Regions from separate parts of the Homo sapiens genome. Here region 2 is linked to region 1. Evidence: promoter capture Hi-C in human tissues and cell types (Jung and others, 2019). All regions are on one chromosome and are shown on one strand. The core of a region is centred on a gene start or on the middle of the fragment in contact, and the rest is flanking DNA. Distances in the headings are between cores, read along the strand shown. Region 1 holds the start of ATRNL1 (attractin like 1). Region 2 overlaps LOC107984272 (a long non-coding RNA gene).

Evidence for each region. The method cuts DNA at HindIII sites, captures the fragments that hold promoters and counts their contacts. A contact is called where the count stands out against the background at its distance.
Region 2: a contact is called between a fragment that was not itself captured here and the fragment with the promoter of ATRNL1 in region 1, in 2 of the 25 tissues and cell types used here (H1 embryonic stem cells and pancreas).

Annotation. Positions count from the first base shown.
Region 1 is chr10:115,089,546-115,095,277 of GRCh38, forward strand. ATRNL1 (attractin like 1) reads left to right here and starts at 3,820. Exons shown (of 29, transcript NM_207303.4): 1 at 3,820-4,498. The coding sequence starts at 4,206. RefSeq lists silencers at 3,351-3,860, 3,891-4,020, 4,111-4,390. The HindIII fragment of the contact is 15,819 bases long and covers 1-5,732 here.
Region 2 is chr10:115,039,398-115,044,397 of GRCh38, forward strand. All of the region lies in intron 2 of LOC107984272 (a long non-coding RNA gene), which reads left to right. Among named protein-coding and RNA genes, the nearest start is that of LINC02626, 47 kb to the left of the region's middle. The HindIII fragment of the contact is 7,889 bases long and covers 1-5,000 here.

The sequences.
Region 1 (5,732 bases), core at 2,570-5,069:
TCTTTGGATTTATTTCCTTGGATTTACTTATAACAATATGTTTGAAATGTGTTAAGTAGAAAAATTGGCAGAAGTGTATGTGTGTGTTTGCAACTGTGACAGCAAGGGAAACCGATGGAAGAAAAGAATGAATCCAAGAGAAAGCAGAATGTTAGATTTTGATTGGGACGGTGGTGGTGTTTCAGATCCATAGCCATATAAACATTTTAAATATCATCAATAATTTTTTAATAAGTACCTAAATTTGATGGTTGTTTTTTTAAACTGTCTAACGTTACAGACCATTCATCATCTATTTGTGTCTTAAGAATACTGCCCCAGTTTCGCTGTGGGTCCCTTTGAGTGAATGCATTTCTAGCTTTTGAGGCCACGCTATCTGTAGTTCTCATTATCTTGGTTGCTTTCAGAAGCCTCATATAAGCCAAAGGGTGAACAATAACCAGAGAACAGAGATTCTTAAATTAAGCAACTGAAAAGAGTCTGCTTTGGTTCATTAGCCCAAATAGGATCTTTTACTTTTTGAGTAGCAATCAAAAGATATTGGATCTATCATTTCTCTTGTTCTCTTAAAAAATCACTTAAATTTCCTTTAAACAATCTGGTGATGTGATGTCAGATTTTTGCCCATCATATTATAACATCATTGTTAAGTAGTATGAATGGAAATGAAACATACACCTCAAAATATCTAACGGTCCTGATATAAGGCTAAAGAAAACAAATAGTCTTTTCTTATCTTTCCCCTTGGATGAATTTAAAATAGATAATTCTTAACAGTTTCATCCTACTTCCGTAGGGTGAATTTTCCCCCAGTATGGCTTTGGAGTAAATTTTCACCTTTTTGCTAGATTTATGACTGCTATTACCAATACTATTAATTATTTCAGTATGATATAGCACTTCTAGGAGGCTGACCCTACTTAATTGGAAAAAAAGAAAATATGTTGGAGCTTTAACATTTCTTGATCATAGAAGGTACTGAAACATAACTCATGATTCTAGGCAAACTTTGCCATTGAGTTTTTGTGTGACCATATAAAATAATTTAAGTTTTCTGTGTCTACATTTGTAAAGTATATGACACTCAACTGTATAATGAGCTCACAGTCTAGTGAGCTTGATAGAAGATAAGCTAATCTGGGGTAGAAATCATGCTTTATTCATATTTGTTTTCTCTTGCTTAAATTCATAATAGTTACTCAGTAAGTGTTGACTAAAAGTGTTTGAGAGAGAAACAAAATACAAGGTGAGTGAAAATTCTGAGATCCTTGTGAGAATAATTCATATAAATTTAATATATTCAGCTTGATTCTAAAGGCAATGTTGAGAGGAGGCCCGTGGGGCTGCATGTTCTTCAGTGTAATGTGAAGTACTGAGCTGATTATAGTGGTTATTCAATTAAAAGATATGTATTTTAAAATTATTATTATACTTTAAGTTCTGGGATACATGTGCAGAACGTGCAGGTTTATTACATAGGTATACACGTGCCACGGTGGTTTGCTGCACCCATCATCCCGTCATCTACATTAGGTATTTCTCCTAATGCTATCTCTCCCCTAGCCCCCCACCCCACAACAGGCCCTGGTGTGTGATGTTCCCCTCCCTCTGTCCATGTGTTCTCATTGTTCAACTCCCACTTATGAGTATATTTTTAATGGGCAAGCTCTGCTCAAATACAGGCTACAGTCAGTATGTGACTGAGCTGTGATCTCTCTCGTCAAAGGGACTACAGCGCACCCTTTGAATTACCTTCACACTCACTGACGGTTTTAAGAGTTTGGCCACTTTCCCCACGTCTGAAAGCGACTCTACCTTAGATGTGAGAAAGATGCGGCTGACTTTGGCTGGCAGATGGAGAAGAATGGAAAAGCAGCAGACAGTGTTCATGCATGGCTGACACTAGAAAGAATTCTTCTGGATTTCACAGTCATTGAAATGAAAAGATGTGATCCAGAACAGGATCTTCCTTTTAACTGGTGTCTGCAGTGTTCTCTCCTCTGCTTCTTCACTCATTTCAAGAAGTCTCTAAGGGGCAGCCTGATGTGGAAAAGATGTTAAGGGAAGAAGAGGGCATCCTAATTCTAGGTTTGATAAGGACATTTTTGATACTGGTAAAACCCTGAAATTATGGAAATTATGATTTGTTCTGTATGCCAACGAGAATCGTGGTTTTCCTTTTGCTCTTTTCCTTGCGAAGGAGCCAACTCCTTCTGGATCTTTGTTTTTATTTTTTCCTCCTTAAGTCACTGCTGAGGTATTTTTAAACCAAGCCAACACGTATATTTTATTCACCGAAGGAAGAACAAAGCATCTGCTAATAGAAGCAGTGAAAAAAGCACAGCAGTCAGAGGCCTCGTGTCTAAAGCTCAGTTCATTACTCCTAACCTGCCATTGGCCAATATTTCAACCTTTCTGAGTTGCTCTTTCTCATCTGCAAAATGGGGTTAATGGAGGATTTCATCTGCAAGTGGGGATAAGAGACATGAAAAGAACTGACGCGAAATAAACACGAGTTGAATCCTAACAATAATATTTTGACTATGTAGTTACAACAAACTTTTCTTTCTTCTTTTTTTTTTTTTCTGTGAGAAGTGCCTTTGGTGGATTTTGAATTCTTTTTCATACTGCCTGTTCTTTGGTGGGACTCCAGCAACATTGCTGTAACTCGAGGATATATGGCTGCAATGTGTGTTTGGCTTCCTTTCTCAAGGGGGTCAAATAAAAAGGCAACTGTTTAGAGAAGGCACCAAAGTACAAAACAAAAATCTCAGAATATGCCAGCCAATCTTGGAAAGTCATCTGAAGAAGAAAAAGTGCTGCTGAGGAAGGAAAACGGCCCTTTTGTGGGCATCACTTCTGCTCTTCTGAAAAAAAGCCCCGATGCTGCAATATTTTTCAAGGCAGAATATCGTCCCAGATGGAGGAGGGAGCACTGACAAGCAGAAAAGGAGAGACGTGCGGTTTCGAGGCAGCGTCTGTAAGGGGTGGAGAGCGCGGGGCTCGGAGCCTCGCAGTTCTTTGTTGGGGGCGCGGGCTTCGTTATTCCCGAGGCAGCAATGGCTCCCCCTCGGAGGTCCCTCCGCGGAGACCGCCTCGCGCCTCTCGCAGTCCCCAATCCCCGCCCCTCCCAGCCCTCGCTGACCCCACAACGTGGTCGGACTGCGGTGCCTTTAAGGCTTTTGCCTGCTGCACATGCTCAGCTCTTTGTGTGTTGTTGGAGTTTTTCTCTCTTAAGAGAAAAAGAAGAAATAGGCAGGAGGATGGGGCGGAGGAAGGGGGAAGCGCTAGGGAAAAAGCGTTGCACTTTTGCAGCTGCAGACGGCGGACGGGAAGGACTTCTTTTCTGCTGAAGCTGCGAAGCCTGTGTCGATCTCTCATTCGTGGGGCTCCCGGGGCGCGGGGTGCGGGTGGGGCCGGGGTGCCCGCACCGGCCGGGGGGAAGGGCACGCGGGCCACACCTGGGGGGCCTGTCTCCAGTCAGCGCGCGGGCCAGGCGGGGTGGGCGCGCGCGCGTGGGGGAGTCCCCGGTCCCTGTCAGGGGCGGGGCGAGACCAAGGCGCCGGGCCTGTGGGGAGGAGTGTAGGCGCGCGCGAGGGCGGGGGGCGGCCCCACGCATCGTGGGCTCCCGGCGCTGCCGCTGCGGCCGGCTCGAGGCACCGGAGACAGAATGGCTGCCGGGGCGCCCTTGACCGCCGGGCGGGCGAGGCGGGGCTGACCGCCGCCTCCTTGATCGCCCCCTTCCACGTTGGGCGCGCCCACTTCGGGGCGCCCGCTCGGCCCCCGCCCTCCTGGGCGCGCGGCGCTCGGAGCCGAGGCAGTTGGCGCGGGCCGCGGGCGAGGCGGGGCCGCGCGCGGGGTCCCCTCCTCCTGCCGGTCAGGTCCCCTCAGGAGCGCCGGGCGCAGTCTGCGCCTCCCGCTCCCCGCCTCCGGCCGGGTCCGGGACGCCGCGGCTGTGGGGTCGGCCCGCTAAGGACAAGGTCGGGAGACTGGGTGGCGATGCCCGAGTGCGACTGGAGGCAGCCGAGCGGAGGCGACGGCGGTTGGGATCTGTCCCTCCTGACCGGGGAGCGGGACTCGGACGGGCGCCGGTGAGGAGGAGGAGAAGCGGCGGCGGAGAGGTTTTCTGCGGCCGGAATTCCCTTCAACAGCATCCCTGTCGGCGCCCGCGAGCGCAGTCTCGCCGGGCAGGGGCGCCGGGGAAGATGGAGACTGGGGGCCGGGCCCGCACTGGTACCCCGCAGCCAGCGGCCCCGGGGGTGTGGAGGGCTCGGCCGGCGGGCGGCGGCGGCGGGGGCGCCTCCTCCTGGCTGCTGGACGGGAACAGCTGGCTGCTGTGCTATGGCTTCCTCTACCTGGCGCTCTACGCGCAGGTGTCCCAGTCCAAGCCGTGCGAGAGGACCGGCTCCTGCTTCTCGGGCCGCTGTGTCAACTCCACCTGCCTCTGCGACCCGGGCTGGGTGGGGGACCAGTGCCAGCACTGCCAGGGCAGGTTCAAGTAAGTGCCTTCGCCGGACCCCGAACCTCCAGCCCTGCCTCGCTCCCGTCGCGGCCTTCCCCGCCCCCCTCGCGGCCTCCCCCGCCCCCGTCGCTGCCTCTGATCCCCCGGCCGTGAGTGAACCTCAGCGCGCGGCGGGAGCGGGCGAGAGTGGGGCCCGCGCCGCGCCCCCTCCAGCCCCGGGGCGCCCCGGGAGAGCTCGGGCCCGCGCGGAGCCCTGACCAACGGGGAGCTAGGCATTTCTCGAGCGTTCCAGATGTCCGCAGCGACTTCTGATCCGCTGCTCAGCACGAACATTTTCACAATCAGTTATGATGCCCAGCACCATTTTCTTGGGATAATATTTAAAAATCAGAAATTGTCCAAGTTACTTATGAAATACATGCGCATTGTGAAAAATTCACAAAAGTGTAAAGGTTCAGTTATGATCTATGAGTGCCTCTCTCTTTCCCCATTCTCTTCTCTCTAGAGGTGACCCCTTCTAACATTTATTTAGTCATCATAGTGATGTTAATAAGTAGAGTTTATGATGGACTTGCTAAGTGCCAAACACTCTTCTAAGCGCTTTATGTCAATTTTCTCATTTATTCCCTACAACAACTCTGTGAGTTGCTAGAATTATTATGCTGGATTTACGGAGAGAAATCGAGGCGATACATTGAAGTAACTTGGCCAGGATTACACAGTAGTAAGGGCCGAGTTATGATTCCAAATCAGCTGGCACATTCTGGAGCCAGTACACACTCCAGAATGTGTACTTTTAACGAATTTGCTGTGTTGTATTTGCTAGGACAATCTTGAATTGAGAAATACAAAGGTGACTTTAGGTTAGATAGAAGGACGTTTTTATGTGGTGAGGATAATGGATTTTTTTCTGATCGGTTAATTCACTGTCAGCTTTTGTGCGGGAACATCGCTTTGGCTTGTTTGAAGCTCAAGGAGCCTAAGAAGTTTGCTTGCTAAGGTGAAGGTACTTTCTTCGTACTGGTTGGTGTTTATTACATTCTTGCCTGATATAAAAAGCAATGGGTCACAGTGTAGGGGAGTAGCAAAAGTCACTTAATATTGGGGCAGGCTTCTAACAACATGCAGGTAACAGTCATTAAGAAAGTCAGCTTCTTAGTCTTCTAGATACTTAATATGAAGTTTGCTGGCTGGTTTGTGGCTCTTGAATATTGTAGATTACTGATATTGTTAGGCTGATAGCCAAAATCTAGGTGAAATTTCTCTTGGG
Region 2 (5,000 bases), core at 1,532-4,031, 51 kb before region 1:
AATCTCACTTGGAGAGATGTCATGCTATTGTTAGATCAAACCCTGGCCTTTAATTTAAAGAATGTGGCTTTAGCCACAGCCCGAGAGTTTGGAGATACCTGGTATCTTAGTCAAGTAAATGATAGAATGACAGCTGGGGAAAGGGACAAAGTCTCTCCCGGTCAGCAAGCCATCCCTAGTGTGGATCCCCACTGGGACCTAGACTCAGATCATTGGGACTGGAGTCGCAAACATCTGTTGACCTGTGTTCTAGAAAGACTAAGGAGAATTAGGAAAGAGCCTATGAATTATTCAATGATGTCCACCATAACTCAGGAAAAGGAAGAAAGTCTTGCCTTCCTTGAGTGGCTACAGGAGGCCTTAAGAAAATATACTCCCCTGTCACCCAACTCACTCAAGGGTTAATTGATTCTAAAAGATATGTTTATTACTCAATCAGCTGCAGATATCAGGAGAAAGCTCCAAAAGCAAGCCCTTGGCCCTGAACAAAATCTGGAGGCATTATTAAACCTGGCAACCTTGGTGTTCTATAATAGGGGCCAAGAGGAGCAGGCCAAAATGGAAAAGCGAGATAAGAGAAAGGCCACAGCCTTAGTCATGGCCCTCAGACAAACAAACCTTGGTGGTTCAGAGAGGACAGAAAATGGAGCAGGCCAATCACCCAGTAGGGCTTGTTGTCAGTGTGGTTTGCAAGGACAGTTTAAAAAAGATTGTCCTATGAGAAACAAGCTGCCCCCTCACCCATGTCCACTATGCTGAAGCAATCACTGGAAGCCACACTGCCCCAAAGGACAAAGATTATCTGGGCCAGAAGCCCCCAAGCAGATGATCCAACCACAGGACTGAGGGTGCTCAGGGTTAGCGCCAGCTCATGTCATCACCCTCACTGAGCCCTGGGTACATTTAACCATTGAGGGCCAGGAAATTGACTTCCTACTGGACACTGGTGCGGCTTTCTCAGTGTTAACCTCCTGTCCTGGACAGCTGTCCTCAAGGTCTGTTACCATCCGAGGAATCCTGGGACAGCCTATATCCAGGTATTTCTCCCACCTCCTCAGTTGTAACTGGGAGACTTTGCTACAGATAGTAAGTATGCTTACCTAATCCTACATGCCCATGCTGCGATATGGAAAGAAAGGGAATTCCTAACTTCTGGGTGAACCCCCATTAAATATCACAAGGAAACTATGGAGTTATTGCACACAGTGCAAAAACCCAAGGAGGTGGCGGTCTTACATTGCCGAAGCCATCAAAAGGGGAAGGAGAGGGGAGAACTGCAGCATAAGTGGCTGGCAGAGGCAGGGAAAGACAAGCAGAAAGGAAAGAGAGAAAGAGCAGAAAGTGAGAGAGAAAGAGAGATAGGAAGTGATAGCAAAGAGGGAGTCAGAAAGAAAAGAGAGGAGAGAGAGAGGGGGAAAGACAGAGAGAGACAGAGGAAGAGACAGAGAGACAGAAAGAGAGAAGCAAAGAGAGGAAGAGACAAAGAAGGAGTCAAAGAGAGGGAAAGAGAAGTAGTAAAGAAAAAACAGTGTACCCTATTCCTTTAAAAGCCAGGTTAAATTTAAAACCTATAATTGATAATTGAAGGCCTTTTCTGTAACCCTATAATACTCCAATACCACCTTGTTGTCAGTGTAAACAAGGGTATAGCCCAAAAGCACTGAGGCCACTGACAACCCGTAGCCTTCTTATCAAAAATCCTTAACACAGCAGGTTTCCTAACAGGGAATCTAAATCTTAAGGTCGGACCAGACATAGGAGGAACTGCCTTCAGGACAGGATGATAGATGGTTCCTCCCAGGTGATTAAGGAAAAAGACACAATGGGTATTCAGTAAGTGATAAGGAAACTCTTATAGAAGCAGAGTTAGGAAAATTGCCTAATAAGTGGTCTGCTCAAACGTTGAAGCTGTTTGCTGTTTGCACTCAGCTAAACCTTAAAGTACTTACAGAATCAGGAAGGAGCCATCTATACCAATTCTAAGTTAATATGGACTGAACGAGGTTTTATTAATAGCAAAGAAAATTAAAATCTCAAACTTACAAGGTTTTCAACTAAAGTAAAGTTTGCTAAAAGTTAACAGCGTAACATGTATTATCCTACTACCACACACTCTCTCAAAGGATTTCTCAGACAGTTTGCAAAAAAGAGACGAAATCTGTCCTTACTCTACAATCCCAAATAGACTCTTTGGCAGCAGTGACTCTCCAAAACCGCTGAGGCCTAGACCTCCTCACTGCTGAGAAAGGAAGACTCTGCACCTTCTTAGGGGTAGAGTGTTGTTTTTATACTAACCAGTCAGGGATAGTATGAGATACCACCCAGTGTTTACAGGAAAAGGCTTCTGAAATCAGACAATGCCTTTCAAACTCTTATACCAACCTCTGGAGTTGGGCGACATGGCTTCTCCCCTTTCTAGGTCCTGTGACAGCCATCTTGCTAATAGTCGCATTTGGGCCCTGTATTTTTAACCTCTTGGTCAAATTTGTTTCCTCTAGGATCGAGGCCATCAAGCTACAGATGATCTTACAAATGTAACCCCAAATGAGCTCAACTAACAACTTCTGCTGAGGACCCCTGGACCGACCCGCTGGCCCTTTCAATGGCCTAAAGAGCTCCCCTCTGGAGGACACTACCACTGCAGGGCCCCTTCTTCACCCCTATCCAGCAGGAAGTAGCTACAGCGGTCATCGCCAAATCCCAACAGCAGCTGGGGTGTCCTGTTTGGAGGGGGGATTGAGAGGTGAAGCCAGCTGGGCTTCTGGGTCAGGTGGGGACTTGGAGAACTTTTGTGTCTAGCTAAAGGATTGTAAATGCACCAATCAGCACTCTGTGTCTAGCTAAAGGATTGTAAATGCACCAATCAGCACTCTGTAAAATGGACCAATCAGCAGGATGTGGGCGGGGTCAAATAAGGGAGTAAAAACTGGCCACCCGAGCCAGCAGTGGCAACCCACTCGGGTCCCCTTCCACACTGTGGAAGCTTTGTTCTTTTGCTCTTCACAATAAATCTTGCTGCTGCTCATTCTTTGTGTCCACACTACCTTTATGAGCTGTAACACTCACTGCGAGGGTCTGTGGCTTCATTCCTGAAGTCAACAGACCACGAACCCACTGGAAGGAACAAAGAACTCCCGATGTGCTGCCTTTAAGAGCTGTAACACTCACTGCGAAGCTCTGCAGCTTCACTCCTGAAGTCAGTGAGACCACAAACCCACCAGAAGGAAGAAACTCTGGACACACCTGAATATCTGAAGGAACAAACTCCAGACACACCATCTTTCAGAGCTGTAACACTCACCGCAAGGGTCTGTGGCTTCATTCTTGAAGTCAGCAAGACCAAGAACCCACCGGAAGGAACAAATTCCAGACACAGTAGGAAATCTGTATTTTTGATCTGTGGCTTTCAGGGTTACTCCAGTCATTGAAGTCTCCATTGCAGCCTTAAGGAAACAGAGAATGGTTTGGAGGAGCACATGTGGGAATTGTTATGGACCAGGCTTGAGATGCACATAGGGCATTTCTGATCAAACCTAGCTGGAAGCAGGGCCAGGAAATATAATCTAAGGAAGACAGTTTTTGTAGACAGTAGTAGTCTTTGCATCTGAGACATGTAGATTATCAAGCAATTAATTAGAAAAAATATAGCCAGGTGCGATGGCTCATGCCTGTAATCCCAGCACTTTGGGAGGCCAAGGGGTGTGGATCACGAGGTCAGGCGTTCGAGACCAGCCTGGCCAACATGGTGAAACCCCGTCTCTACTAAAAATACAAAAATTAGCCTGGTGTGGTGGCACGCATCTGTAATCCCAGTACTCAGGAGGCTGAGGCAGGGGAATCTCTTGAACTTGGGAGGCAGAGGTTGCAGTGAGCCAAGATCACACCACAGCACTCCATCCTGGGTGACAGAGCGAGACTCTGTCTCAAAAAAAAAAAAAAAAAAAGGAAAGGAAAATATAATCAAGAATATTGACAGGTAACATTTATTCAACACTTACTATGCACCAGGCAATACACTAAGTGTTTTACATGGATTAACTCATTTAATCTTAACAATAGCCCTATGAAGTCAGTGCTGTTATTATCTCCACTTTATAGATAAGGAAACTGAAGTACAGAAAGGTCAAGTAGAGAAATGGCCATGCTTGCATTCTCAGTTTTTGAAGCAACTGTTACAGGAATCTGGTGTGAGAAATGCTCTAACAAGATGTGAGTCAGGGGTTGGGAGGTACTGAGTCTGAGTTGGGCAGTTGGGGATGGAAGGATGGATGAAGAACAGCTTGACAGAGAAGCTGACACTTGGCAACTCTGTGGGACCTTGAAGGGTTAGAGGGACTTCACCAAAGAAACTGGTGGTCAGGGAAACGGGAGGGTCACGGCAAGGAGGGAAAGGAAACTGTACCACAGCAGAGAGTCTGAAGCTACTACAGTGTAGTTCAGCGTATAAAGAATAATTATTTTAAGGTAAACTTATAACCTCATGCAAATATAAAATGAACACGTGTCAAAGATCTTATTTAATTTATTAATTAATGAGGGAACCTGTAAGATGTTACAGCCAGTTCAAAGGATAATTCAAATAAATCCATGCACATATGTAGGCAATAAGGAATGCTGAAATGAATTTAAAAGTAGATGTAAACTGATTTATCCACAGAGAAATAATCAGTTGCATTTCACATAACAAAATTCAGTTGCTTTTCTACAGAAGGAATTGTTTGCATCATTACCAATTTTTCTACAACTAACAGAATTATAAAATAACTCAAACACAATGAAAGGCAGATATAACCCACAATGGTATGATAGATACAATATCCACATCCAGGATGTTTTTTTCTCATTTCAAAGTCTTTCACAAGTTTTCCTGATAAGGGAGTGTCAATAATACTGTATGGCAGGCAATAAGACTGGATGGATGGTTGGGGCCAGGTTTTAAGGGGTAATAAATGCCATGTAAAGGTATGTGCATACTGTGCAACATGTCGGGGAATCTCAAA